2 separate regions of the Homo sapiens genome follow, and region 1 is linked to region 2. The links are contacts of gene promoters, found by promoter capture Hi-C in blood cells and fetal thymus (Javierre and others, 2016). All regions are on one chromosome and are shown on one strand. Each heading gives the region's core, a stretch centred on a gene start or on the middle of the fragment in contact. The rest is flanking DNA. Distances are from core to core; before and after follow the strand shown. Region 1 overlaps ERRFI1 (ERBB receptor feedback inhibitor 1). Region 2 holds the start of RERE (arginine-glutamic acid dipeptide repeats).

Region 1 (6,767 bases), core at 4,032-6,531, 800 kb after region 2:
GGGGATGAGCGTCTTCGGGCCTGGGGGCTTGTTTGATTTTTTTTTTATTTGTAAAAAGGGGGTTGCGTTGTCTTGTTCACACCGTGTACCCGTAAATCCTGTCTTGAAAGCTGGGGTGGGAGGCTCGGCGATTGCTTGCGGTGGTTGGTACCGGTTCTCTGGCGGTCAGCCCCGCTCCCTCTGCCTAATCTCACAGCGACGATGGTAATGCCGAAATCAGTATTTAAAAATTCGTCTAAGCTGTTCTGAACTCTTCCTTCTCTCCTAGAAACGTGATTCTTTGCTCTGAGTGTCTTAAGTACGGCTTTGAATGGAATCGGACTGCAAAATTATGTGTTCAAGACGTGAATGCTTATTGGGAATTTTGTGTGTGTATTTATATGTATATCATAGCCCTGTACAAATTAGATGACTCTTTAACCGTGAATGGTGCTGTATTAGTGCTTGCTAAGTCTTTATTAGGATTTCATCATTGCTTGAAAGAAACCAGTCTCTTACCTGATAAAAATATGAATAGATGGTTAGTCATAAACTTAAGTCAGAATGGAGACTGTAGCTTTAAAAGAGATGTGTCGGTGACTTGAGGTACACCTGCAACACAGGTAGGGCAAGACTGGTTTCTAGGCAACTGTCAGGGGTGAAGAAAGGTGAGGTTAAAATGCCCTTTTTTTCCCTTCCAGAACAAATGTTCAACCTTTTATAAATGTGTAAGAATGCAGTGGGTACACACATTTGTTGAGACTGAACATCCCAAGTTCACCGTACCTATTTTTTTAACTGCATTTCTTTTCTTATATTTCTGTAATTACAATATACAGTTTTAAGTGAAATTTTATTTGAACAGAGACCAAAGACAGGCTAGGTATCAGCAAATGATCAAATTTTGCAAAGACCAAAATAAAAGAAGCTGGTTTCTTGCTAACATGCTGGCTATAATTGGTTACCAATATGTTATCAAGCAAGTTCTTTTCCAGATATTAGCAAGTTTGAAGAAAAATAACAAAGGATTTAGCATGGACTTCAGAAACTATTTGTCATTCCCTTTGCTTCAAGCAGAAGTTTATTTTCACCTGTGTGTTCCAGGGGACACTCGATAATAAGTGATAGAGGTCTTAGACTAACGATTTATAACCTGACAGATATATTAGATTGTAAACTCCTTAAGGGTAGGCACTCTGCCTTGTATAGCTTCTATCTTATGCAGCCTTGCACATAGTTGATGTTGATAAATAATTGCATGAAAGCATGTTTTACCTTTTAAGGCTCAGCAGGATTGGAGCAGTCATTGATAAGGGTTGGAAAGCAAATCTGTTTAATTTTTTTATGGCTGTTATGAAATGCCTGAATTATTGATATTTTTGACGGGTAAAACTGTTGTTTCAATCATCGGTTTTCCTACTTGCAGTTCACAATATATACTGGTCACTCTTTATAAGATTTAATTATGCTTGAGTTTTTGTGTGAAAATACCTCTTGACTGCTGCTTCTCAAAAGTTGAGCTAGATAATACTTCCTTTCTGCTGAAACTAATGGTGGCTTTTCAAAGCAATTTGCGTAAATTACAGGCACAATCTAACATGCTTGAAACTGACCTGATTGTCTGCATACCATCAGATTGCTTTAGAAAGGAGCAGAGGAAGGAAAGGAGGTGTCAGGGGTAACTCCAGGAATTGGAATGGCATAGGCTCCCTCTGCCAGAGAAACAACTCTGCTCTTGATCTAAATAAATTTGAATTGGTACCTCATCATCTGGATCCATTTGGATACATTTAGCATCCTTTGCGGGTGTCTGGCTATACAAAAGCTAATAAAGAACTCGCTACATAAACGCAGTCCAGTTGTGGTATTCTGGCATTGTTCACACAGCATAAACACGTGCTTTGTAAAGGTAGATGAGGCGAATGAGTTTGAGGGTCCTAAATGTAAGTTACTACCTTAACAATTAGTTTTAAGATAGGGAAAAGTTACTGAGGGGGGTTCAGATTTCAGAAGGTGGTGGGGAGGATTCTCAGATTTCAAGTCTTTGTTGATACTGTAGTCCAATTCCTCACACCATAAAATTGGGCAATATTACGAAAAGACCACTCTTCCAGGTCTCAATGAATGTGTCTTTAAAATGTGGGGCTTTTGGCCGGGCTCAGTGGCTCAGGCCTGTAATCTCAGCACTTTGGGAGGCCAAGGCGGGCAGATGGCTTGAGCCCAAGAGTATGAGACCAACCTGGGCAACATGGTGAAACCCTGTCACTACAAAAAAACACAAAAATTAGCTGGGTATGGTGGCACACGTCTGTAGTCCCAGCTACTCAGGAGGCTGAGGTGGGAGGATTGCTTGAGCCTGGGAGGCAGAGGTTGCAGTAAGCCAAGATCACACGACTGCACTACAGCCTGGTGACAGAGTGAGACTCTGTCTTTAAAAAATAAACAAACAAAAAAATGTGGGGCTTTGGCTACAGAAATGGAGCCCTTTTCAACTTGGAAACAATAGGAAGGTAAGGATTGGAAGACATTATCCAAAAGCTCTTATTCAATACCCCAGATGTGAAACTGGACTAGTTACAGATTGTTTTTTAAACAACTATTCGCTCAGTAGAATTGTCTTCTGACTCTTATCAGGGCTGCCTCTTTTTCAGCCTTTAGATTTCCATTTAAAAGTCACCTACTCAGAGAGGCCTTCCCAAACCACCTGTGTAAATATATGCTCCTCTGCCTCCTTATCCTATTGCTGCTGTACCCTGCTTGTTTCCTTGGAAGGTATCGCCATCTAAAATTGTTTGCTTGCTTGGCTATTCTCTTCCTCCCTCATTAGATGGAAGGCTTCTTCAGGCAGCAGCCATCTCTATTTTTCACCTCACATGGTGTCTAATCCAGAATAAGCACTTGATAAATATTTGTGAAAAGAATTAATCCTTGCCCTCTAAGAATTTTTGAGCTGAATGAGCACTATGAGTTGAGTTTCTGTTCCTGCCTCTGCTATTGACTAGCACTTAGGTCTTGAGCATTTAACTTAACAGCCTTTTGCTTCAGTTTCTCCATTTATAAACAAGAATGTTACAAGGAGAAATGAGGTTGTTGCCTAAAATGAAGATACTATAGAGTGGAGAGGTAGTGAAAGTGTGGGGAAAATGCTGGATTATAGTACAGAAGAGCCATGATCGCCCTTTTGCTTATAGCAAGATATTTAACCTCACTTTGTTTCCTCATCTGCAAAATGGAGATTCTAATCCCTGCCTCTTCTTACAGGGATGTTGTGGGGATCAAGTGAGATAATGTGTAAGAAGGTGCTTTGTAACTTGTTGAGTGCTTTACAAATATAAGGTATGCTATTGTTAAATTCCGGATTTTACAATACAGTGTGATTATAATGCCATCATTGGGATCCATGCTGTGAAAGCATGTTAAAAGGAGGCCCGTTGGGTATATGTAGTAACCGCTTATTACGAGTAAAAACAGACTTGTGTTATATGAAATAACCATGTTGTAAAGAGTTCTGTTGTGGTGGGGCATCCGTGGATCGTTAAAGACTGAGGGCTTCAAAATAGTTGTTTGAAGTGGTAATAGAATGTCAAATTGATGCCTTAACCCACCCATTTTAGAGGATACATAGGCCAGATCTACAATTAATAACTTTTAATAGGAGAATTTGAGGGAGTTGAAGTGAAACAGGAACTTTCATAGGCTACAGGTTACCCAAGAAAAACTATTACCAGTAAATCCATAAAAAAGGATCTGTGCTACCCTTACAAGTTGAGCAGTATAGTCAGTCGGATCCTACTTCGCCAGTTTAAAAAGCCGTAGGGACAGGAAGAGGCAGTGTGGTGTGTTGGTGAAGGGCCTGGACACTGAGGCCGGGCTGTCTAGTTGAAGTCCTGGCCCCATTGCTCACCAGTTTTGACCTTGAGCAAGTTCTTTAACTCTGTGCCTCAAGTAAGTGAGAGTAATAATAGTAGCCCACCTTATGGCATTGTAGAGAGGATTAAATGAGTTCATACACATAAAGCACTTAGAACCATGCTTGCCTGGCAGTTGTATGTCCAGTGAATGTTAGTTATCATTAATGGTTTTATATTAATTGTAACAATCTAGAGTTACCCATCGGGTAACTTAAATGCTTGTTAAATAAATTTGAAGTTTTAAAGACTTGCGTCCCATCATTAGACCATTGTGCTCGTTGTCTTTAGATTAGAATTCACTTTTATAGTAAGAAATAATCTATTGTTATATGTCAAAAAGAAATAATATTTTTCTCCCCTCTGTGTGTATATATAGTTACTGATTGTGCTACTCTGTAGGAGAAATACAAAGGACAAAAGAATGTATTCCTGCTATCCTACTTTTCTGCTGTCACACTAAAATTGTGTGGGAGGCTTAAGTGAGTTGAAAGACTGGATTATGGTAGTTGAGGGAATGGGTTTTTTGTTAGTTTACCATTTTTTAAAATACTTAGCTAGAAAGCATTCTGAATTATTGAATAAATTACGTCATTTATTTTTTATTTGACAGTTTGAAGATAAATTATTTTCTCTGTTGCCTCTATTTCACCACCTACAAATGGTCCATTATGTTCTGGACATGTTTAAGAGCCTCTGAGGAATGGAGCTGCAAACACAGACACAAATGTTCATCTTTGCCACACTGAACTATATTTTAATGTTTACTGAAGCCATCAAGCTTTTCTTGAATTCATGCAGGAGTATTTTAATTACATTAAAACATGGCATTATTTTAAAAGTAATCTATGTTTTTAATTTAAAGGCTACTTATGCTTACCATGGTAGAGAGTACAACTAAGGAAGTTTTCTTAACTTGCCTCCCTCTTTCTTTTCCTACCCCTACCTAAATCATAGGCTATTAAAATGAAATCTGGGCCGGGCGTGGTATCTCACGCCTGTAATCTCAGCACTTTGGGAGGCCGAGGCAGGAGGATCACCTGAGGTCAGGAGTTTGAGACCAGCCTGACCAATGTGGAGAAACCCCATCTCTACTAAAAATACAAAAATTAGCCTGGCGAGTTGGTGCATGCCTGTAATCCCAGCTACTCGGGAGGCTGAGGCAGGACAATCGCTTGAACCTGGGAGGTGGAGATTGTGCTGTGCACCATTGCACTCCAGCCTGGGTGACAAGAGTAAGACTCCGTCTCAAAAAAAAAAAAAAAAAATTGGTGTTTTTTTGTTTGTTTGTTTGTTTTAATTTCCTCACAGGTGATTATTTTAGACATTTTAAAAAATAAACATGCAGAGATTGGTATATTTGGGGAGGATCTAAAATCATGGAGTTTGTCATATTCCTAAATCAGTTTCCTTTTATAAATTTTGCCTTTAAATGTAGTTACCTTATTATCTTCCTTGGTTATGGAAGTACTTAATGTAGGTGATTCTTAAATGGAACTGAAAAGACCATTTATCACCCTGAATAAACAGAAATCAGGTTCTAGAACCAGATTGAAAGGAGGAAATTACATCACACTCTTAAATAAGGAAGCACTGGGCAGAACTGGATGAGTTGTATGACAAAAATGTGCCCCTCCTCCTCCCATGGATGGCTTCTGAGATTTATTAATGAGATCTGGTGGCCAGGTAAGCATATCTAGGTTACTGCCTTAAGGTAGCCTGCATTTTTCTTTTTTTTTTTTTTTTAAGCAGTTTCAAAGAGACTGTCCTCAAGCTAAAGGCATATGATTTCACCTTAATGAAGAAGGTGCAGTGTGCTTTTGGTGTAACTTTTTTAGAAAAATGAAAGTCACCTTAAATTCAGCAGCAAAAACACAGTCTAGAAGGAATAGTGTTTTAAGAGAAGGCAAAACACTGTTTTAAGAAAGTACCCCCCCAATTGCTTCAAGTAAATATACTGTAACAGAAACCAGTTTAGAAAGCTACACTGTTAACCACTGAAGCTTATAATTTTTACTCAGTCTACAAACTGTCTTCTTTGAATTCTGGAAATGAATTTCATAAAAATTCCTTCCTGTTACATATCCTAAGGTTGTTACATTATTATTGGGCAGTCGCCTCACTCCAGCACGCATTAACTTTATCCTTTATAAATCTGCTTCTCCCCTGAGCTCTTCACTGACTCACAGTGTATGTGAATCTTTCATGTCATTACTTTTTAAAAATGAGATGGATATTTTCTCAGTATCCATTTAATAAATAATAGACATGAATGATGCCAAGATCTACAGGGGGAAAGCATAAATCAGACATCAGTTCTGTCCTAGATGATTTGAAGAGTGGAAGGGGAATTGGGGCCCAGCACAAAATAACACAAGAACAGAGCACCGCTGCTCCAGTGTTTCATGAAAGGGAGCGGCTTCATGGAGAAGGCAGGGTAGAGCTGACCTTAAAGGATGAATCGAATTGTAACAGAGATTTGGGGAAAATAGAAGCGCGCTTGAAAATATAGATTAGGTTTATATTGTGGAGGCCCTAAATTGCCAGGCTGAGGAGGTTTTATTTAGGAGCCTTTGAAGGTTTTTTGAGCAGCAGCAAATCTTAGCTTGAGCTGTTGTTAAGGAATATTGACTTGGTACTAGTGTTGTAGAATAGGTTGCATATTGCCAGACCCCAGGAAGAATGATGCCTGTCAATGGAAGGGTAAGATTTGAGAAACCATGTAAAAGTAGTCTGTGGAACTTGGCAATTGAATGTACATGGCCTCAGGTTAAAAATGGTGCCTTGAGAAGTGTGATCCTCTTAGACCCTGAACTGGTTTGGGGAGTGGGGAATGGAGTATGAAGTGAAAGGAGGAGTTTGGTTTGTAGAGTTTGAGAT
Region 2 (6,960 bases), core at 1,147-3,646:
TTAAATGGGTTTAGTTTGCTAATTTTGTGGTCTGATACCATATATTATGCTTTGTAACTATGTGGCATTTCTGGACTTCTAAATTTACATTTTTATGGATAAATGAAAGTGACGGCCAATCCCTAATACCATAGTAAATGTTATTTCCTAACGTGGAGAGCCTCTCTCCTCCCTGCTGGATGGCAGTGCATTGTCCATTTGTCTACCACAGAGCTGAATCTTTATTAGAAATAATGCTCCTGTAAGTTTCGAGACCAGCCTGGGCAACATAGTGAACCTCCATCTCTACTAAAATTACAAAAGTTAGTTGGGTGTGGCGGCACACACCTGTAATTTCAGCTACTCAGGAGGCTGAGGCAGGAGAATCGCTTCAACCGAGGAGGTGGAGGTTGCAGTGAGCTGAGATCGTGCCACTGCACTCCAGCCTGGGCAACAGAGCGAGACTCTGTCTCAAAAAAAAAAAAAAGAAAAAAAAGAAAGAATGCTCCTGTAGATAGAGATTTTGATGGAAAGTGAAGCCATCTAACTGATATACTTTATCCCTCATCATTTCCAAACAGGAAGTCAGATAGTCCTATCCATATCTAGAATGTTGGAAGCAGTTTATTGAATTTATTAGGTTTTAAAATTCAGTTCTCACATTATCAGATATATAAAGAGATATTAACTAGTTTCCCCATTTCATAACTCCAGCAAAGAGGATTTTTCTTGCTGAAAGTTACTCAGAAATGTGATGGCAAGGATCTATGGCTTTTTTTTTTTTTTTTAAGATCTCTTGGGTCATGGTCCAATAGTATCTGTTAGTCCAAATTATTCTTTAAAGAATAATTGAATGTGGGCCGGGTGCGGTGGCTCACGCCTGTAATTCCAGCACTTTGGGAGGCTGAGGCGGGCGGATCACCTGAGGTCAGGAGTTCGAGACCAGCCTGACCAACATGGAGAAACCCCATCTCTACTAAAAATACAAAATTAGCTGGGTGTGGTGGCGCATGCCTGTAATCTCAGCTACTCGGGAAGCTGAGGCAGGAGAATCGCTTGAACTGAGGAGGCGGAGGTGGCGGTGAGCCGAGATCGCGCCATTGCACTCCAGCCTGGGCAACAAGAGTGAAACTCCCTCTCAGAAAAAAAAAAAAAATGAATAATTCAATGTGGAAATTATAATCTGAATAGATTTTCCAAGGAGAAAATTATCACTTCTTTTGAAACAGATGAGTGAATTATTTTGTGCTACGTTTTCTACCCCTTATTTTATACGGACCTTAACTCCTTCGGGAAGAGTGTATGGTATAAGGACACCAATAAGCATTTACAGAATATTAACAAACCAACAATAGGTTGATGATTCACCCTGGATTCGTGCCAGGCTCTGTGAAAGAACTCAATAAACATGATGTGCATTTCAAAAACTGCTAATCATAATTGAAATTTCCAAACCCCTCAATCCCATAAATTATATGAACTAGAATATGATCATTTGGCCTGCCCCTACTCCCTTTACAGCATGATAGACCCTGTGATTATCAGGCTTTCGGGAAGTGGGACACAATACTTCATTCTTCAAAGAAAAAGAGGTGATGTTTGGTCTTTTCCTCTTTTTAGATTTTTTTTCACACGTACCTTATAGAGTTGTACACTGCTCTTTCTAAAATCCCTTCTGTACCTGTACAGTCTCTCCTTTATGCCTTCATGACACTTTTTATTCTTTTCAAATAAGCAGTGCGACTTATCACTTTTATTTTTCTTTCTGTAATTCATCTTTTGTCATGTACACTATTTGAAAAATATTACAAGCCGCTCATCAGAATTTCGAAAGAGTCCATATGAGAATGGTTTACACCCACTCTGTAGCCCGCAGCAACATGGATCCGCGTCCTAATGACTGAAAAGGCCAATTAAGACCCGGGTAACAGCAAGATCAACCGGACTTCCCCCCACCCCACCCGGGACCTGCCCGCGCCGCCAGCCCGGCCCAGCCCGGGGGGCGCGGGGGGCGGTACTGGAGCGCGGCGGGCGGCGGAGGAGGGCCGGCCTCGCACTCTCACAAAGACGCGCCCGCGGCGGGAGCCCAGCCCACCGCCTCTGGCCGCCGCCTGCAGCGCGAGCCCTCGAGCCCCGGGCCGCGGCGTTGTCAAGGCTCGGCCTCTCTCCGCCTTCTTCTCTGCTCATTTTATTAAAAAGATTAAAAAAAAAAAAAAAAAAAAAAAAAAAAGGAAAAAGAGATCCCGCCTCCTCCGCCTCCCATTGGCCGGGCCCCCGGCCGCGTCACACCGCGCTGTACCAATGGAGGGGCGCGATACTGCGAGGTGGGCCGGGCCCGAGCGGGGAGTGGGCGGCGGGTCGGTGCAGCAGCTCCGCCGCGGCTCCGCCACCATCGCGGAGGTGCCGCTGTTCCCACAGACGCTCGCGAGCAACCCTCCGCGCTCCGGAGCCTCCTCAGCCTCCCGCACACCCCGAGACGCTCGCCCCGCTGGGCCTCGGTCCCCGCCTCCTCCCCCGTCCTTTTCCCCTCTCTCGCTCCCCACATTGTCTCTGCCTCATTTTCTCTCCTAGTTGAGGATTAAAAAAAAAAAAAAATCACCATCATCCTCAGGGAGCCCCCTCGCCCTCGGAAAACAAAACCAGACATGATCCTGGGCTCCTGCTTCTGAAAGATCTGCCCGACCGAGGAGGAGGGAGCCTAGGTTCAAGTCGCAGGAAAGGTCACGGCAGGGAAGCCCCCTCAGCCCCTCCGCGTCGCCTCCCCGCGGGCCGCCCCTCTCGGCCCTGCGCCCCGCGGCCCCGCAGCCTCCGCGCGGCCTCCCGCCCCATCCCCGCCACTTTCCCCGGAGCTGGGCCGCGAACACCTCACTATTGATGGTGTAGCGCTTTAGGGGAAGGTAAGTGTCCAACTTGCCCGCGCCGGGTCGTGTGCTTTCTTTTTTGGCCCCTCGTCCTGGTGGTCAGAGAGGGTCGGCCGTGAAAGCAGTCACTCGCCCGGGGGGAGGCAGGAAGAAAAGGCTGGGGTCGAAGCCGAAGTCGAGGGGAGTCGGGCGAGGGCAGGGCACTTCTTTGGTCCTGTCCGGGCCAGGTGACCGTTCCTGCGTGCCTTCTGACCCCTGCTCTCTCTTGGCCTCTTATTCATGCTCTTGTTCTACTTGTTTGAGGTTAAACTATTTCATGTGACTACATTATTGGCTGAAACTGGAAGGGAAGGAAGTCAAGGACTGAAACTGTAAATTTCTTGAATGTTTGTGGATTTCGGGGTGCTGGGGGGAGGACTTTATTATTAAAGTATCATTTTCTCATTGGGGGAAGATTTCCTCTTTGTGCTCCCAATCTCTAGTTCTCAGCTGTATGTGATTAGAAAATTATGAAACCCAAAGTCACTTGCAGCAGAATAGAATTCTTACTATCCTGTTTTAGTTCTGCTCTCTGAAGGAGGGTGGCTTCTATTTATTACTAATTTTTAAGATGATGGAAAGATTCGTAGTTTTACATACACGTGTGTATGTGTGTCTGCTAGGAGGGGGGAAAAGTGTTGCAGGCTTCCTTTGAAACTGGTTGCTTGAGAAGTTGTTGAAAGGAAAACAGAATGATTCATTGTTGAATTGTCATTTTCCTCTGTCTCTTTTCCAAGGTTTGCTTACAATTTTTCTGGATTACAGACTTCAAACATTGATTTAAGTAAAATGGGTCCTTGAGAAACTGGGTGCTTTAAATGTTTCAGTATCTGTTGCTTTTTTAAGGTACATTTAGAAAGTAGTTTTGTATGAATCGTGAAATAGCCTTCTTCACAGCGAATTTTTAAACGCAAAAAAAGATAACTAGTAAGAGGGTGAACTTGGTGAATTACAAAATAGACATTTTAATATAGCAGGAATTGATGCATCTAAGATTTGAAACAGTTTTCATAATTGCTTTCCATTTAAAGAGAGACCTTTTTGTCTAGTGTACACTGGTCTTTTTAGTCTCAGTCTGTTGGGGGAGGGGAGAGAAGCTGGATCTGTACAATAATAAAATCATCTTTGGGTTGATATTTTGTTCCATGGATTTGCTTGCTGAGTTAATACTACTGTAAATTATCAACCAGTTTTGATTTTGATGGCCTGGGATGGGTGGAAAGCTGGCTTCCAGCTCTCCCTGTTGTTGTTGAGGTCGAAGGGAAAAGAGGCAGAGGCAGACAGACACACATATACACACACACACACACACATACACACACACACAATACCAAGCTGAGGGCTCATTGTTCTTCCATACACACATTCATTCTCTCTCTCCCATATTTGGGACTAGGTTTGCACAGACAAACACAGCTCTTTTTGGGAGAGAAGAGAGAAGATGGGGGAAGGGAGGGTGCTTTTCTGTTACAGCTTTCTTCCACCCATCTCATGCCTGGCCGTTTTTGCAACCTTGTGAGGCAGAAGAGTGCATTGGAAACTAAAGGACACTCAAAAACATGTTCAGAGACTTCTCTTCTCTCTGCCTCCCTTTATTCCTTTTGCAGCCGTGGTTTCTGCTGCTCTTTCTTTTTTGTATATGTAAAGATAAAATCCCTCTTTATATGTTGTGGCCTTACGTTCAGCTCTCATTGCTTTTGTATTTCTCATTGACCCTGATTTTGTTGGGGACAGTGATTTGTTCACTTGAGTCTTAGTAGTGAATGTGAGCAGAGTCTTTCTAGATAGAAATAGATTTTATTGATTAATATTATAAAGGTTGTATTGAGGTTAATATTTAGCAAGATGATGTTTGCATGTTTTTAGTGGTGTGATGGTTTGATGGTCAGGTTTGCTGGCAATTGAGCTGTCAATGTTGTTTTTGTAAATAAGGGTTATAAGAAAAGATCTGGTTTTCTGTTTAGGGGGCTCCTTTGAATACTGGACAGGGAATAGGCTAGTCCACCTGGGATAAACCCAGCTGTGGCCCAAGGATGGAGGTTGGTGTGAATACATGTGGGTTGCAGAATAGCACCTTCTACTGGTTAATTGTTTGGAAAGATCCAGACGAAGAGGATGGGGGAGGGGATTAATGGCTGAGGCTTAATGATTTTCTTTTAAGCGCAGTTGTTGTGCCTTTCTGCAAATGCCACTTCCCCGAGCTGCTAATACAGATGTCCTTTGACAGGCACGGTTGCATTGAGGCATTATTATGTTACTGGTTGTGCTTCGACATTAATTTGTTCTGTTACCAGAAGTATTTACACTTTGTGACTTCCCAGGACTCCTTTGAATGATACCTTCTCATCTTTTATGAGATAATTTCTCTTGAAATATTAAACCAGAGGGTTTATTTCTGTTCCCAGTATTGGAAACTATATACACCAGCAGTCTTTTAAAAAAGTTTTTAGTATCATTAATAAAAAATCAAATAAACCTACTCTATGGAAAGTAAAATTGTAGCACTGGACAGAGGTTTTTCTTGGGATTTAAACCAGGTAGAGGGGTAGAGGAGGAGTTGAAGGAGGGAAATCTCACTAAAATCGGCAATTTTGCAAATGTAGTGGCCTTGCATTGCAGTAGTGTTGTTTTCAGTAGTCTTATAAAGTCTGATAGGGTGACTTATTGTATGGATTAGATAAAGAATTTAAAATTGGAAGCCAGAGAAAATGTGAAATGAGTGTGTACACAAATTATCATAGAAGAGGGTCAAATTGTTGCCCAAAGGCTTGTAAACTAAGGTGCAGTTTCAGAGATAATCTGCTTAATAAATGTCTCAAAGGATTTTTATTTTCACAAATCCTGGCCCATCTCAGTTGTTCTAATGTAATGAACTATTAGAGAGGTTTGCAGTGGTAAAGGGGACTGGGTGTGTAGGATAAACATCTGTTCCAGACTGACTGCTTCTAGGAATGTGACTTCTGATTCACTTTACTTTCAAAACTTCAAGAGTAATCTCTAAAGTTGTGTATCTTTTACAATGAAATGTGAACAGTTCAAATGTATTATTTTCTCAGTGGGAATGGATTCAGGGGATTTCAGTTCAATATATTCTCCATCAGTGTTTTGTCACAAGGAAACTAGAACTGAGAACCAATTCACAACAAAAAGGTAATCCAAATCAAGAAATAAAATGTACCAGTTACCTTTTCAACTTTGATTTACTGGTCAGTCGAAAAAGCTTTTAAAAAATAGGACAGTAAGGCCTAGTGCGGTGGCTCACGCCTGTAATCCCAGCACTTTGGGAGGCCAAGGCGAGTGGACCACTTGAGGTCAGGAGTTCGAGACCAGCCTGGCCAACATGGTGAAACCTCGTCTCTACTAAAAATACAAAAATTAGCCTGGCACTTTGGCGCGTGGCTGTAATCCCAGCTACTTGGGGGGCTGAGGCACGATAATTGCTTGAACTCAGAGGCAGAGGTTGCAGGGAGCTGAGATTGGCACCACTGTACTCCATCCTGGGTGACACAGCGAGACTCTGTCTAAAAAAAAAAAAAAAAAAAGGAAAAAATAGGATAGTAAACACTGTCAGGTCCTGCAATAATTATGTGTAATACTGAACAGATACTGAACAGAAATGTTCCAGGTGCTGTAAAAACACACATATAAGAATATAATCTGTGCCCTTCTAAAAACCTGTATATGCTGAATATTATCATGGATTTAGTAAGCATTCATTACTTAAAAATTAGTTTCAAATATCAGTGATCAAAAAAAATTTAAGTAGTAAAATAAGTTGGACATACCAAGTTCTTTTGAGAGTAGTATGCTTTCCTACTAAGCTACTTTTGGCAGCTACTTTTGCAGTCGATTTAAAGGTTAAGATAGCAGAAAATTCAAATGTTTAAGTGAGTCATTAGTGTAACCTAGCTGTGAACTTCGTTACACACACATACACACATCCTGAAAGAAAAGCTATTGTTTTACATAATCAGTTTCTGATAATGCTGTGCTCTAGTTAATTACGGGATTTCTTTTTTTACTACCAGGAATTCCTCTTGAATGATATTTAAGTGATTGTTGAATCATATTTGTGTGATTG

What was found. Contacts are between HindIII fragments. The CHiCAGO score rates a contact against its expected background, and 5 or more counts as called.
Region 1: a contact is called between a fragment that was not itself captured here and the fragment with the promoter of RERE in region 2, in 2 of 17 cell types (total B cells and naive B cells). The highest score is 6.3, in total B cells.

What each region holds. Positions count from the first base shown.
Region 1 is chr1:8,018,941-8,025,707 of GRCh38, reverse strand. The region is part of intron 1 of ERRFI1 (ERBB receptor feedback inhibitor 1); the gene reads left to right. Among named protein-coding and RNA genes, the nearest start is that of ERRFI1, 4.0 kb to the left of the region's middle. The HindIII fragment of the contact is 1,222 bases long and covers 4,671-5,892 here.
Region 2 is chr1:8,813,076-8,820,035 of GRCh38, reverse strand. It overlaps RERE (arginine-glutamic acid dipeptide repeats), which reads left to right and starts at 2,396. Exons shown (of 23, transcript NM_001042681.2): 1 at 2,396-2,876. RefSeq lists silencers at 1,859-2,088, 2,189-2,488, 2,739-2,798, 5,692-5,986 and an enhancer at 2,152-2,446. The HindIII fragment of the contact is 6,239 bases long and covers 1-6,101 here.